Linked DNA regions of Homo sapiens: all the other regions are linked to region 2. The links are contacts of gene promoters, found by promoter capture Hi-C in blood cells and fetal thymus (Javierre and others, 2016). All regions are on one chromosome and are shown on one strand. The core of a region is centred on a gene start or on the middle of the fragment in contact, and the rest is flanking DNA. Distances in the headings are between cores, read along the strand shown.

Evidence for each region. Contacts are between HindIII fragments. The CHiCAGO score rates a contact against its expected background, and 5 or more counts as called.
Region 1: a contact is called between the fragment with the promoter of ZBTB45 here and the fragment with the promoter of ZNF460 in region 2, in 4 of 17 cell types (neutrophils, total CD4 T cells, fetal thymus and 1 more). The highest score is 9.5, in neutrophils.
Region 3: the fragment with the promoter of ZNF446 here is called in contact with the fragment with the promoter of ZNF460 in region 2 in 5 of 17 cell types (fetal thymus, neutrophils, naive CD8 T cells and 2 more); the score reaches 10.8 in fetal thymus.
Region 4: the fragment with the promoter of ZNF324B here is called in contact with the fragment with the promoter of ZNF460 in region 2 in 2 of 17 cell types (neutrophils and non-activated CD4 T cells); the score reaches 10.5 in neutrophils.
Region 5: a contact is called between the fragment with the promoter of MZF1 here and the fragment with the promoter of ZNF460 in region 2, in 6 of 17 cell types (activated CD4 T cells, fetal thymus, total B cells and 3 more). The highest score is 8.2, in activated CD4 T cells.

Annotation. Positions count from the first base shown.
Region 1 is chr19:58,518,356-58,521,182 of GRCh38, forward strand. It overlaps ZBTB45 (zinc finger and BTB domain containing 45), which reads right to left and starts at 1,455. Exons shown (of 3, transcript NM_001316979.2): 1 at 1,387-1,455. RefSeq lists enhancers at 1-362, 1,420-1,739 and a silencer at 1,230-1,329. The HindIII fragment of the contact is 4,202 bases long and covers 1-2,827 here.
Region 2 is chr19:57,279,155-57,281,854 of GRCh38, forward strand. It overlaps ZNF460 (zinc finger protein 460), which reads left to right and starts at 1,331. Exons shown (of 3, transcript NM_006635.4): 1 at 1,331-1,682. The coding sequence starts at 1,653. ZNF460-AS1 (ZNF460 antisense RNA 1) reads right to left here and starts at 1,180. Exons shown (of 3, transcript NR_136529.1): 1 at 1,125-1,180. RefSeq lists enhancers at 527-1,466, 581-1,172, 590-1,789, 1,173-1,764, 2,693-2,700 and a silencer at 2,187-2,236. The HindIII fragment of the contact is 6,066 bases long and covers 1-2,262 here.
Region 3 is chr19:58,475,097-58,477,796 of GRCh38, forward strand. ZNF446 (zinc finger protein 446) reads left to right here and starts at 1,256. Exons shown (of 7, transcript NM_017908.4): 1 at 1,256-1,408; 2 at 2,083-2,464; 3 at 2,541-2,700. The coding sequence starts at 2,123. It overlaps ZNF324 (zinc finger protein 324), which reads left to right. Exons shown (of 4, transcript NM_014347.3): 4 at 1-340. RefSeq lists enhancers at 345-434, 495-554, 795-1,044, 866-1,160, 1,315-1,514. The HindIII fragment of the contact is 6,419 bases long and covers 1-1,948 here.
Region 4 is chr19:58,450,201-58,452,900 of GRCh38, forward strand. ZNF324B (zinc finger protein 324B) reads left to right here and starts at 1,422. Exons shown (of 4, transcript NM_207395.3): 1 at 1,422-1,504. RefSeq lists silencers at 1,128-1,454, 1,432-1,861. The HindIII fragment of the contact is 9,897 bases long and covers 1-2,700 here.
Region 5 is chr19:58,571,812-58,574,626 of GRCh38, forward strand. It overlaps MZF1 (myeloid zinc finger 1), which reads right to left and starts at 1,524. Exons shown (of 6, transcript NM_198055.2): 1 at 1,244-1,524. MZF1-AS1 (MZF1 antisense RNA 1) reads left to right here. Exons shown (of 6, transcript NR_027334.2): 4 at 47-144; 5 at 767-1,012; 6 at 1,106-2,815. RefSeq lists enhancers at 229-1,090, 1,091-1,950, 1,319-1,408, 1,469-1,898. The HindIII fragment of the contact is 12,442 bases long and covers 1-2,815 here.

The sequences.
Region 1 (2,827 bases), core at 205-2,704, 1.2 Mb after region 2:
AGGGCTGAGGGTAAAAGGTTGGGCAGTACCTTGGGAGATGCCCCAGGGAAACCAGTACATGCTCCCTGGCAGCCCCTAGCATAGCGAGCAGGGAGGTGGCTCCTGCAGCCCCAGCTTCTTGCCATCTCGATGGGGCCTGTGGGGCCCAGGGTGTGGGTGTGGCACAGAGAGGGGAAGTGTGGATTGAGCAGGGGTGTGTGACTGGATAGCTGCCCATGGAGTAATCGGGGACACGGCCCAACATCAGGCACCAGAAAGGGGAGGGGGTAGTCCTCAGAGGACTCTGGAATCTGAGGAGTTCTGCTACTCCATCCATCAAGCAGGTAAACCGTGATCCTTCGGCCTGTTTCCCCTTCTATCAAACAAGGGATGAGATACTCGGCTCATCCCGCACCCAGACTGCACACACCTCCAGTCTAAGGGAGGAGGGTAGGAGCTCTGGACTCTGACATCCGTATAGGCTCCACCAGCCTGTCTCTCCCTTGGAGTCACAAAGCCCCAGGGTGGGCTCGGCTTGATGCTGCCCCTACACCCTCGGGCTCTACTGGGGTCTCAAGATTCAACCCCTCCGACTCCTTATGCCCAATCCGCCGTCCCTTTGCTCAGCCAGACGCCTCCCTTTTTTGCATGCCCCACATTTGACCCTCAGACCACTTCGAGCACCTCCACTGCCCCGTTCCCGCTGTCCTGGACGGATGAAGAAACCTGGCTGGTGTCTCTGCGCCCCTCGCCTCCCCTTCTGTTCCCCACACGGCAGCCAGAGGGAGCTTTTCCAGACTACGGATCCGGATACACCACCCCGCTCCCTGGCCCTGTTCTGAGCCTTCTGTGCAATGCCTCAAAAAAGCCAGGCCTGTGCCCGCGCAAAGGCTAACTCAGCAAGCAGCACCGCCCCATCTGTATTCACCTAGCACCTGAAAGGATTCTAATCTGTCCGGCCGATGGGGACGGAAACTTGCGCATCAACCCGAGAGACTTGAACCTTCCTTTCCCGCCCCGCCCCGCGACGGGCTCCATTCCTCAGTCCCGACGCCGCAAGGCCGGCCTGGACACTTCAGAACAAAGGCCTGCACTCGAGACCCGGCGCCCAGGCCAGCTTCCCGGGTCCGGCGCCGCACACTCCCGCCACGCCTTCGCCGCGCCGTGTGCTTTACTCCGAGCGCGTTCTCCCATACTCTGCTCCATTGCCCGCGCCCCACCCTACGCCCAAAGCACCCCTCTGACCCGCCGCTGCCACCCCGCACTCTGGCCCCCGCCGTACCCCGGTCCTGCAGCGCCCCCTCGCGTTCTCAGCGTGCGCTTCTAGCGGAGCGCAGGTGCCCCTCCCCTGGCACGCCCCAGCCTCCTCGCCCGCCCTGCGGCAGGGGGATGCCCATTCGACCCCACCTCCGACTCCTCTTCAGGCACCAGGCTCTGCCGTGGCCGCTTCCTCCTGACCGACTACAAGGCCGCACTTCCGGGCCGTTACCCCGGCGGAACGGAGGCCTGCGGTCGCGGCGGCGCAGGGGAAACCCTAGGCCGAAGCACGTTTCCGGTATTTTTATGGCGATCAGCTCCCGCCAGTCTGCACTCCGGCTCTCCTCTTAGTCGGAACCAAAGTCGAAGAGGCTAGGGCTGCCGCGTCGCGAGGAATGTCTGGACCAGAGCACTCTTCCGGCGTCGCCCAGGAGATCAGGGGTGTGGCGGGCCTGCGCGATCAATCCGCAAGCTCCCTGTGATGCAGAATGGGAAGGCAGTTCCCGGCCCAAGTGCCCAACGTGTTCTGGCCAGTTTAAACCCCACTGCGAACCGGGGAAGTGGCCTTATTCCTGTGACACGGGTGAGAGCTGAAGTAGGTCTCGGTCCCTGGCCGCCAGGAGGTGCAAGCAAGCTACCACTACTGCAGACGCTCCAGGCCCGCCCGCTGTGGGTGGGACTGGGGAAAGGACCCCATCTCGGCCTTGGCACCTTCTACTACAACGCAGACAGGAATAGACAACTGCCTCACCCTGCTCTGGGCCTCCCCTGAGCTAGACCCTGTGAGATTCTGGGACATTGCAAGTCAATCTGGTATGGGGGACAGAATTCCGAAAATGGCCCCCTCCGAGATTTCCGTGCCCAAATCCCCAGAACCTGTAAATATGATTATCTCACCTATGAATAGTTACACTACATGGTGAAAGGGTTTTTGCGGAAATAATTAAGGTTACTCATTAGCTGATCTTAAAATAGGATATGATTCTGGATTATTTTGGTAGGTCCAAGGTATCATAAGGGTCCTTAAAGGCAGAAGAGGAAGGTGGAGAAACTTGAAGTAGGAGAAGGGTTCCAGAGGCTTTGAAGGTAGAGAGGTCCATGAGAGGAAATGCAACAGGACAGGTGTCATGCTGAGAATCTGAGAAGAGCTGCAACAACAGCCAGCAAGAAAACAGACCTCATGGCCCGGCGCAGTGGCTCATGCCTGTAATCCCAGCACTTTGGGAGGCCAAGGCGGGTGGATCACGTCAGGAGATCGAGACCATCCTGACTAACACAGTGAAACCCCATCTCTACTAAAAATACAGAAAATTAGCTGGGCGTGGTGGCAGGCGCCTGTAGTCCCAGCTACTCGGGAGACTGAGGCAGGAGACTGGCATGAACCCGGGAGGCGGAGCTTGAAGTGAGCTGAGATCGCGCCACTGCACTCCAGCCTGGGCGACAGAACGAGACTCCGTCTCAAAAAAAAAAAAAAAAAAAAAAAAAAAAAAAGGCCGGGCGCGGTGGCTCACGCCTGTAATCCCAGCACTGTGGGAGGCCGAGGCGGGCGGATCATGAGGTCAGGAGATCGAGACCATCCTGGCTAACACGG
Region 2 (2,700 bases), core at 81-2,580:
AAAAAAAAAAAAAAAAAAAAAATTTAAGAGTCACAAATATGTGAAAAAGAGAATGATGTCTTTATCAATTTTCAAAAATTACTATTGCCAGTGATGAATAACAGTGTTCCTTGCACACTAATTTAGCCAAAAATATTTCTCCAAAAGTACCGCATCGTGTAGGAAATTGACTCCATCTCCATTCCTTGACTATTTTCAATCTCAAAATTAAATCTCTTGGAGAGTACTTTCTGCACACCTTTCTATTTCCTTAACCATATATATCGTCAAACCATTGAAAGCTGGACTTTATTCTCTCACTTTCATAGTCATGAAAAGAAAAAAAAAAAGTTACTGATGGGGACTCCTAAGACTTCGCATAATATAATCTTTGCATAGTCTAGGATTGTTAAAATTCCTAACAAGACTTTATAAACTCTCCTGTCTGCAACCAGTTAATGCTGGGTTGGGCCAGGGTTCCCCTCTTTCCCGTCACTTATCCATCTACGCTCATTCTTTTCATAGCCTCACCCAATATCATGACTTGAAGTAACAGTTTACAGTAATAACTCCCAAATTTATATATCCACGCTCGAACCCTCTGCCAATGTTGAATCATAGGTTGAGTATATGGCACTACGCTTTGTGGTCTTACTGACGTTTCAAACTGATCATGCTTGAAATGGGAGTACTGGGCTTCCCGGCAAGCCTGCTCCACTAGCAGCCTCCCCACCTCAGGGTACGGGAAGTCCACACGTGGCGAACGCGAAGCCTATTACATCACCCGGAAGTCCCTGCATCCTACGAAGGCTGGGCCCGGCCAAAGGAGGCCCAATAGAGGGCGGTCTGTCCTTTCCCAGCAGGCTGGGCACACTGTCAGGCGTCCTCCTTTGGGTGGCTATTTTAACTGCTCATTTATCCTTTTCTTCTATGAAAAGATCCAGAAAAGAGGCAAAGCAAGCGAGAAGTCGCGGGCCCAGCCCACAGCAGGGTAAGCACCTTTGTTCGGGGTCTGAATCGGGGCGAATATCCCCGCCTCCTGACCTCGATTTTCCTGAGCTAGAAGGGACCTTTCGACCCTCCGACTTGTGCCTATACTAAGGCGGTGGCCCTAAGACGACGCGGGGGTTCTGGTGCGCACTTACGTGCAGTCGGATGCGCTGGGTGAGTTCCCACACCCGGTAGATGTAAGGGAAAAACTGCATTACCCAGAAGGCACTGCCCCTTGCGTCGGCCGCGGACTCTGGGCCATTGACGACCCAGGACAGGAGAGTTTTCTGCGGGCCAGGGCGGCGGAGGCGGGACTTCCGCTTCTTCGTGTGACGTCATCTCCGTGGGCCGGTTTGGCCCTGAAACAGTGTGGGGCCTAGAGCGCTGGGTGGGCGCGTTCTGCGGCCTGAGCAGGGACGGGTAGTGAAGCGGTTACGCCCCTTCTTCGCGTCTTGGCGGGAGCCTGACGCCCCGCTTCTCCCCTAACGAGGTGTCCCACCGGCGCCCGCCGAGGCCTAGGCCTCCGCAGCCGCCCTCCGTCTCCTCAGCCCCGACGCTGCGCCTTGGGCCTTGTGCGCATTTTTTTCGGGGGAAAACTGAGGCTCGGAGTGCGAAAGTCAGCCGAGGTCGCCCCGCCCAGGACAGAGAAGGGCTGTGGTCGGCTGATCCGCGGCATTCCCGGGATGGCGGCGGCGTGGATGGCTCCGGCGCAGGTGAGTGGACGAGGTTTCGGCCTTGCTGCTGCTGTGCTATTTCTAGAGGCCTCGTGGGCAGGCTGGAAGCCAAGACAGCCACAGGATTTTTCTTTGTCGCCATCGTTTATTTAAGAGAAATGGCCGTGGCTTGTCATTTCCTTTATCCGCAGTCCTGCAACAGTGTTGGCCTCTGATAGGTGTTCAGTCCGTGGTTGAAGGAGTGATGCTTCCTTCTAGGGATCTCATCACACTTCCCCTAAATCCAACCTTCTCTGTTGCCTGCCAGCCCGTACCCCATCCACCTGGCCAACCACCCCTGACCTTGTCTGTTTGCATTTTTCCCTGGTCCTTTGCTCTTCAGAGCCACCAACCTGACCGTGCAGTCCTCTTCCATTTTCCAGGCTTTCTCCTTGCACTTCCTTTTACTTCGAACACTGCCCCTGTAACTTTGCAGGGCCTCCCTTTCACATCCTTTTGGCATCTGTCCAGGTGTCACCTATTTGGAGGTGCCTTTTTTGGCAATTCCGGCTAAAGTGGCACCTTACACCCTTGCCCAGAGTCTGGTATTTTTGTGTAGATAATCTGATGGTATTAAAGAAGCTTGTGGATTTGAGTTTGTCAAGGATGTAATGGGAACAAAGAAAAATAATTGCAAAGAATGATATTAACTGTCATTGAGTCCTTGCTGTGGGCTGATCGGTGAGTATTATTTAACCCTCAGTTCGTTTAACCCTGAAATTTTTTTTTTTTTTTTTTTTTTTTTTTGAGACGGAGTCTTGTTCTGTCGCCCAGGCTGGAGTGCAGTGGCGTGACCTCGGCTCACTGCAACCTCCGCCTTTTGGGTTCAAGCGATTCTCCTGCCTCAGCCTCCTGAGTAGCTGGGACTACAGGTGTGCGCCACCACGCCTGGCTAATTTTTGTATTTTTAGTAGAGACGGGGTTTTACCGTGTTGGCCACGCTGGTCTTGAACTCCTGACCTCAGGTGATCCACCCATCTGGGTCTCCCAAAGTGCTGGGATTACTCTTTAGAATTAG
Region 3 (2,700 bases), core at 6-2,505, 1.2 Mb after region 2:
AGCACCTCATCCCCAAAAACAACCTGAGGAGGCCGTTGGAAAGCTCCGAGTTGACAAGTCTCATCCACGCACATGCTCGGTGCTTCCAATCGGTGATCAAGACCACTGCTCTTCATCCAGAGCAGGCAGCAGGGATTCCCAGGTATCCAAAGAAACCAAAACAGGCGGTGTAATTTAGGACTGACTAAGTAATGGCTCGGCCACTTTTAAGTGTGGAAGCAAAACTGACCCCACAGATTTAGAAAACTGTAACACTGCTTATTGGGAGAAACTAGTGTCACCCTGGCTAGTTCTGCTCCCCAAATTCAAAGGTAAATAAACGGTTGAGCATGTCCGATCAGCCTGGAGGGAAACCTCCACCCCCGACTTTGTAGGACTGACATCTGAAGACGTCAGAGACTGCGGTCACAACCGTCGGTACCTCCTTAGGGCGCTTAACAGAGGTCAAAGATGGCCCTCGCACCCTCCTGGCGGGAGAAAGCCCAGGCTCAGGGTGGTCTTCTACACCACCGCCTCTCCCGGGTCCACTTGGAAGCGAGTCCCAGCGAACTACTCGACCTAGGAAACCACTGGGCCGCCACTTCCAGCCTCTTCGGAAGTCGAGGCAACGCTCCTGAACGTTGCCACGGGAACAGCTGGAGGCGGGCGGATATGCCCTAGCGTTATCTAGGGGCTGGCCCGGGGAATGGCGTGGGGGCGGCGGGGCCAAGCAAGCGCCACCTCTGATTGGGCAAAACCCCCTCCCCTCACCTGCCAATAGAAACCGGCCCACTGTACAGACGCGCAAGTTTATAACCCGGGAAGAGCTGCTCTCAGAGCGGAGGGAGACCATATAACCCTGGGACTCTGCCGTACCTCCTAGAGGAACAGAGCGCCTCTCAGGCGTCAGAGGCTGCTGCAAATGCGGGTCAGCGGGTCACGGTCGCGCCTGTCTTGCTGATGCTCATGGGAAATGTAGTTCAAAGGGCATGGGCGGTGCCTTCGGTGCAGGCGAGAGATTGGTCAGCGCGGCGTCGCCGGGGCAACACCCGGCTGAGGCGCCCCGCGTTGTGCGGCGCCACATCCGGGAAGCGGCCTCCAAGCAACCGCTCCGGGTTGAGGTGAGCGCAGGCTGCCAGAGTGGGCGCAGCCTTTCCACCCCGTGGGAGGGCTTGGGGTCGCCCTCTGGGGCCTGAACGGCTCCTGCTGTCGGCGCCCTGGAGGGCCCGCCCACTTCCCGACAGGCCGCGCGCGTCACCTCAGCCTTCGCTCAGGCCTTTCCTACCCTCAACGCCGTTCCGGGGGGCCGGGCCTGGCAAGTCCTCTTGGAACGCCTCCCTCTTGCCTTCCCCTTTTGGGGACAGATCCCGAAGTTCGAGCATCCCTCGGATAGGCCGGGTGTCAGGCCTGGTCTCTCAGGCCCGTCCAGGTGGGCGTCTTTCACTGCAGACCTTCAGGGCCGGGATGCTGTGGCCATCCCTCGACTCCGCGCAACGTGGAGCTTTGGCCCCGTTTTTCTTGGCCTTTGCTTTTCGTTTTCACATGCACGGGCCCCGGCAGTGTGAGTCGCCCACGGCTCGCTGTGGTCAGCGAGCACGATGTCCACGTGCCCCCTCCCCAGAGCCATTCCTAAAGGAGGTCCCACCCAGTCAACCTCCCCGAGATTGTGGAGGGCGACTCGTCCCCGTACATTACAGCCTGGCCCCACCTTCTACCCGCCCACCCTGGTCCACTCTCCTCGCACCTCGGCTAGACACTGTGGCTCCTCAGCCTGGCGCTGGAACTCTGTGATGACTGTCTTTCTCCACCTCTTTAGCGTCATCTCCCAGCAGTCCCCTGCTGGACCCAACTGTTTGCAATTTCCAGGAAGCTCCCTGGACACCTTGCGTCCAAGCATTTGTCCCTGAGGCTTCCTCCTGCTCTCATTTGCCATCATTGTTTGGGTCCTGTGACCCTCCTCCTTCCATGAAGCTTTCTTGGCCTTATCTCTTCTGGCCTCAGAGTACACTTGGTCCTGGTCTCAGCCCCCTGGGCTGAGCCTGGTGTCTGCCTTCCCCTGGCCAGATTCTCTTGGCTGACATTCCGACCCTTCCTTTTCTGTAGGCCCATCTTGACGATTCCAAGACCACCCCCTTGAGCAAGAATGCCATCCCCTCTGGGTCCCCCATGCCTGCCCGTCATGGACCCAGAGACCACCCTTGAGGAGCCTGAGACTGCCCGCCTCCGCTTCCGAGGGTTCTGCTACCAGGAGGTGGCAGGTCCCCGAGAAGCCCTGGCCCGGCTGCGTGAGCTGTGTTGCCAGTGGCTGCAGCCTGAGGCACACTCCAAGGAGCAGATGCTGGAGATGCTGGTGCTGGAGCAGTTCCTGGGCACACTGCCTCCCGAGATCCAGGCCTGGGTGCGCGGTCAGCGGCCAGGCAGTCCTGAGGAGGCCGCTGCCCTAGTCGAAGGACTGCAGCATGACCCTGGGCAACTGTTGGGCTGGGTGAGTGTGGCTGGCATCAGCTTCTTGGAGGGATAGACCCTGGCTAGAGCCATTGTGACCTACCTCTTCTCCTCAGATCACAGCCCATGTCCTGAAGCAGGAGGTGCTCCCTGCAGCCCAGAAGACAGAGGAACCACTTGGGAGCCCCCACCCCTCAGGGACAGTGGAGTCCCCTGGGGAAGGTCCCCAGGACACCAGAATAGAGGGGTCTGTCCAGCTCAGCTGCAGTGTGAAGG
Region 4 (2,700 bases), core at 172-2,671, 1.2 Mb after region 2:
TCATGATTGTGAGGCCTCTCCAGCCACGTGGAACTATGAGTCCACTAAACCTCTTTTTCTTTATAAATTACCCAGTCTCAGATATGTCTTTATCAGCAACGTGAAAACAGACTAATACACCAGGCATCGTGGCTCCTGCCTGTAGTTCCAGCTACTTGGGAGGCTGAAGTTGGAGGACTGTTTGAGCATGGGAGGCGGAGGTTGCAGTGACCCGAGTATGCACCACTGCACTCCATCCTGGGTAAGAGAGTGAGACCCTGTCTCAAAAAAAAAAAAAAAAAAGTAAAAAAAAATTGCTTGAAATGTTAATAATGCCTCTAAGCATTTGATTAAATCACAATAGTACTTAAGTGTTCTTAAATTCTTTCAAAGCAGGAAAAATTTAAATAAAAACATTCAAAAATTGTCGAGCTATCTTACACTATAGGGATCTACAAGTAGAATCAATTCTGTGGACAGTTATAGCTGACAGTAGACAGATATTTATAGATGGAGGTGGGTATAGAGGAAGACAAAATGAATTAACGTACTTGACATCTGAGAACTGTCTAAGGATCCTAAAAACAAGACCCTCACAGGGAAGCAACAAAGAGAGAATCGTTTATTCTCTGCCAACAACATGGTCAGTCTACATTGAGACTGCCCTGCCTTTTGTTGTTATGTGTCAAAGACACTTAGATTGGTCCAGAGAAAAAAGGAACAAAGCATCCATGTTGTGATGTGTGGGGCAAAGCAAGAACTAGATGGTCTAAGGACAAGCAAGGCTGGGGAATTACCTTCTGCTCGTCCAAGTTACAAGGAAAACAAGTTTTGGGCGAGCGTCCAAGAACAATCACAGAATCAAGACAAATGACAAGCGGGTAGTGTCATTACAGGCTGAGAATTCTTGGTGTAGAGGTTGAAAAACGGACCTTAAACCTTTACGGGACACTGACACACAGAGAGATCAAACCCTCGCCCAGGATGCACAGTCAGTGAGATGCAAAGCTGGGAAGGGAACCCGGAGCTCCAGGCATCTGCTCCTCCACCTACACCTGCCCTACCCGGTGCGTTTTCTCCTCCCTGCTACCTGCTGGTGTTGCCTTCTGGAACCTCCGCAGTTTCTGCTTTCACACCTGCAGGGTTTAGTCTCCAGGGCTGCTTAGGTGGGTGCCAGGAACTGGGAATCCCCAACGCGGGACAACCTGCCGGGCGACTCAACCAGTGCCACGGAGCCCTTGGAAACCCGCGGCAGCTGCGCTACTCCATTTCCAGGCGCCCAGCGCGGCGGCGCTTAGCCGTTGCCATGGAGACTGGTAATGGCCCCGCCTCCGCGCCGAAAAACAGGCAGGAACCACATAACCCAGAAGGCTGTGCGCAAGCGTCTGCGCGCGTATTGGGGCAATGTGAGCTCTGGGGGCTGGACTTCCGGCGTTGGGACTGTCACTTGGCTGCTCGCGTCAGGCCACACCGGTGGTCTGGGCTGTGGCGCGCGGGTCGGGGCCCGAGGCGGGCGGCCAGGAAGGTACGGACCACGAGCAGCCGGCCGCGCCCCCAAGCCTCGGTATCTTCGAGTATGACGTGGTCGGCCCGGGGGCGGTCGGGCCCCGGCGGGAACCACGCGTTCTCCCGCCCCGCGGAAGCCCAGGAGGCAGCGCATTGGGCATTCTGCGCCCATGACTGCCGGGCAGGCTGAGGCGCGGGGCAGCCGCGGGAGGCTGCTGGCGGGGATGGCGGTCCCGGGTGGTCCATGCCTTTCTTCCCTCCCAGTTGCGGGTTCCGCTGGCGGCGGTGGCGCTGACAAGCCCGCGCCGGGGGGGCGGGGGAGTCCCTGCTCACACAGACTGCGCCCCCACGGAGTGAGGCCGCTTCCTAGACCTCGCCTAGTCGTCTTTCCTCTCCCTGCCCTGGGGGGGTTGCGGGGGTCAGTGCAAACTCCTGCGTCCAGGGCACTGGTGAGCTCCCGACTTCCGGCAGCCAGGGGGCTGAGGTCCCGAAGGAGGCTCCGAGGGGAGAGTCCTGCGTGTGCAAAACCTGGGAGGGGAGCCGAAGCCCAGATGCTTCTGGGACTGAGCGCTCTCGATGTGGAGCTGGAGTAGAGGGGATGTGTGCGGCTGCAGTAGCAGGCGAGGGAGTGGGCTTTATCTCGAGGGCGTCGGGAGACATAGAAGTTTTGAACAGAATCAGGACATCCTCTGAGTTGGGACTTTAAAACGGTTCCACCGTTTGTTGCGTGGAGAACAGACATGCAGGGGTGTCGGCATGAAGGGAAGAACCGACTGCCACAGTCTGGGCAGCAGTGGAGGTGGGCGACCAGGTGAATTCTGGTGGATCTGCGGATGCATCAGGTGTGGGCTGTTTGAAGAACTAAGTACCCCATGTTGTTCAGCCTGAGCGCCTGGAAGAAGAGAGCTGCTGTAGATAGAAAGGAGAATTGAAAGGAAAGCAGGTTTCCTTCAGGGGAAAGATCAAGAGTCTGGGATGTCCCAGGTTGGTCATGTCACTGGACCTGACGTTGTTGGTGTCCTGGGCTGAGGACAGGGCCTATAAACTGGACTGAAGAAGGCGATGAGCAGTCAGGCGTGCGGAGTTACAGCTTGAGGGTAAAGAAAACCGGCTGGGGTGCCTGAGGCTATCAGGGGAGGAGTTCGGCAGGTGGCTGAATAGGAGAGGGTGGCAGCAATGTGGGAAAGAAATTGCGGGAGCGCTGAGATCGAGACC
Region 5 (2,815 bases), core at 274-2,773, 1.3 Mb after region 2:
CAGGTGTGTGCCACGACATCCGGCTAATTTCTTAATTTTTCTGTAGGGATGGGATCTTACTATGTTGCCTAGGCTGTTCTTGAACTCCTGGGCTCAAGCAGATGATCCTCTTACCTTGACCTCCCGAAGTGCTGGGACTTACAGGTTTGTTCCACCATGCCAGCCCACAGGCTGTTTTTTAGGACTAGAAGACACTTCTCTCCCCTGTATCCTTCCCTTCTTCTACATGTGCAACCTCATTCCTGCGCTACAGCTCTCTCTTTACCAGGTGGATGGCACCTATACACCTACAGCCTGGGCATCAGCATCACTGCTGGCGTCTCCCCCTACCCAACGCCAGCCCTTACTTCACCTTCTATTCTCTCATCTACTTCGATGTGGCTCCTCATTTGGGCCCCACCATCATTCCCCTCCCTGCTTGGAAGCCTCACTCCACCTAATCCTCCATGTCAACCTGTGCAGTCACTTGTATGGCTCAGCTCCCAGGCAGCACCCTCTCTCCCTACTCAGCCCCATCTTCTAAGCCCAACATCACACTACGCAATGCCCCATCTCAGCTTCCTGATTTAGCTGGGGTTGGAAGGGGATGGGGGAGCTTCGCAATGGGTGGGGGGGCGGCAAAGGCTCCAAGACTGCCGGAACAGGAGCCTGCAAGGAAGTCCCGAGACTCTGATTCCGCCCATCTTCAGATCACTGTGCCTTCGAGAACTTGTTTCCCCATTTGCAAGTGGGGCTGACCTCCCTCCTCGCGCTGTTCCTTCTGCAGCTGCGGCTTTAGGAAGGAATCTGCGTTTATGAAGGGGATGGCACCGCAGAATCATTCCCCCGTGGGTGGCATCGATTTCGAGGGCCGCCTCATCCTGGGGGCCAAGCCTCCACTCTTCAAGGTGCCAAGTCAACCTGAAACCCTGGGAGAGACTTGGGTCATAGCCAAGATGGCAGGTACCTACGGAGGGTCCCGAAATACACTTCCCAGAAGTCCAGGCGGCAACTTCCGCTCCAGGGTGCCAAGGTAGGTCCAGACGACGCCTAGGCAACCGGGGGCGGGGCTCCCAAAGCCTGTCGTCGTGGCAACGAGTAGTGATTGACAAGCCTCTCGCTCTAGCCCTGGGCGCTCCCGCAAGGACTGCCCGGATTCGTTCCCCGCGCTTCCGGTCTCACTGGGGAGCCGGAATCCCCGAGTCTGCAGCCACCGCCCCCGTCCACACGATAGCCCTCCCGGTTAAGAGGACCCCGCCCTCACCTCTGCGCTCAGCGGGCCGCTCCGCGCTCCTGAGCACGCGCAGTCTTCGACTTCCCCCTCCCGCTGGACTACGTCTCCCAGGATGCTCCGCGCACCAGCTCGAGCGCCTCCTTGCCCTTCCCCCACCCTCGTCCCCGTTTCTACACCCTCTCCTCCCTTCCCCTAGCGGTGGTCGCAATGATCAGGTCATACTCCTGGCCGCTTCTTCCCATGCTCCCCGCCTCGAATCCGTGCGTCGGCATGCGCAAGCCTCTCAGGTACAACAGACGGCAGCACCGCCTACCAGATCGCGCATGCCCCCCACCACGTTTTCCTCACTTCTCTACGGGCCTTCCTGAGATTAGCAGGATCCTGCACCAATCACGGCCGTCATTAGAACTCCGTCGGTGCCCCACCGCGTCTCCATGGCAACTCCCTACAGGAAGGGGCCTCTGCTACTTCCTAGACCGCAAAATGGAGAAAGGCTTGGCCCGATGCTTTCCGGCAGATGTAGTCAGCAGGCCCTTCGTGTGTACGTGCGCGCGCGGCGCGATGACGTTCCTCTGTGATCATGGGCGAGGGGCGGGCCCTGAACGTCTCCATGGTAACCTGGGGACACGACTCGACATCGCCTGGGTAACCCGGAGACGCGGCGGGCGTTGAAAATGCAATGGGGCATGTGGGATGAAGAGGTGGGGAAGGGTACTGGGGCAGAGAGATGCCGATCGATAGAAACAGCGAGGAGAGACGGAGAGAGACCAGAGACTCAAGGGCAAAGAGAGACGAAGGACCGGCGGGAGGAAGAGAGAGAGAGACAGAGAGACAGACTCACAGACTGGGAGGACCGGAGACTCGACGCGAGGAGAGACAGTGAAAATAAGTGAACAAACATAGAGACACGGGTCCAAGTTATAAGAGGGCTGAGTGGATCAGAGGGTCAGGGCCGGGCAAACAGGTGTCAGAACAGTTAGCAAGAGAGAGGCAGATCAGAAAGGGATGCAGATGAAAGAGACACAAAGAAGGAAACGCAGAATGGGTTCACAGAGACAAGAAATGCAGATATCCAGACTCAAGAGGTAGACAAGAAGGGAGAGGGACAGAAACAAGAAGGGAGAAAAGGGACAGAAATTAGAGATACAGTAAGATGGATTGACAGTTTTCGAAGACCTAGAGAAAGATGACAGCACGAAGAGAGACAGGGAGAATCCGAGGTAAAACTGTTAGGAAAACTTAGGAGTCCAGATGCTGTCCAGTTATATGCTACCCTGTACAGGTTGATAGGTTGCAAATGCTTTCTGTCCAGTGTATCGCTTTGTAGCTCACTAAGCAGTTTTGTATCCAACTTTGTGCTTTTATTTCAGTGTTTTTCTTTTTCTTTCTTTCTTTTTTTTTTTTTTTTTTTTGACGGAGTCTCGCTGTTGCCAGACTGGAGTGCAGTGGCACGATCTCGGCTCACTGCAACCTCCGTCTCCCAGGTTCAAGCGATTCTCCTGCCTCAGCCTCCCGAGTAGCTGGGACTGCAGGCTGCTCCACCACACCCGGCTGATTTTTGTATTTTTAGTAGAGATGGGGTTTTACCATGTTGGCCAGACT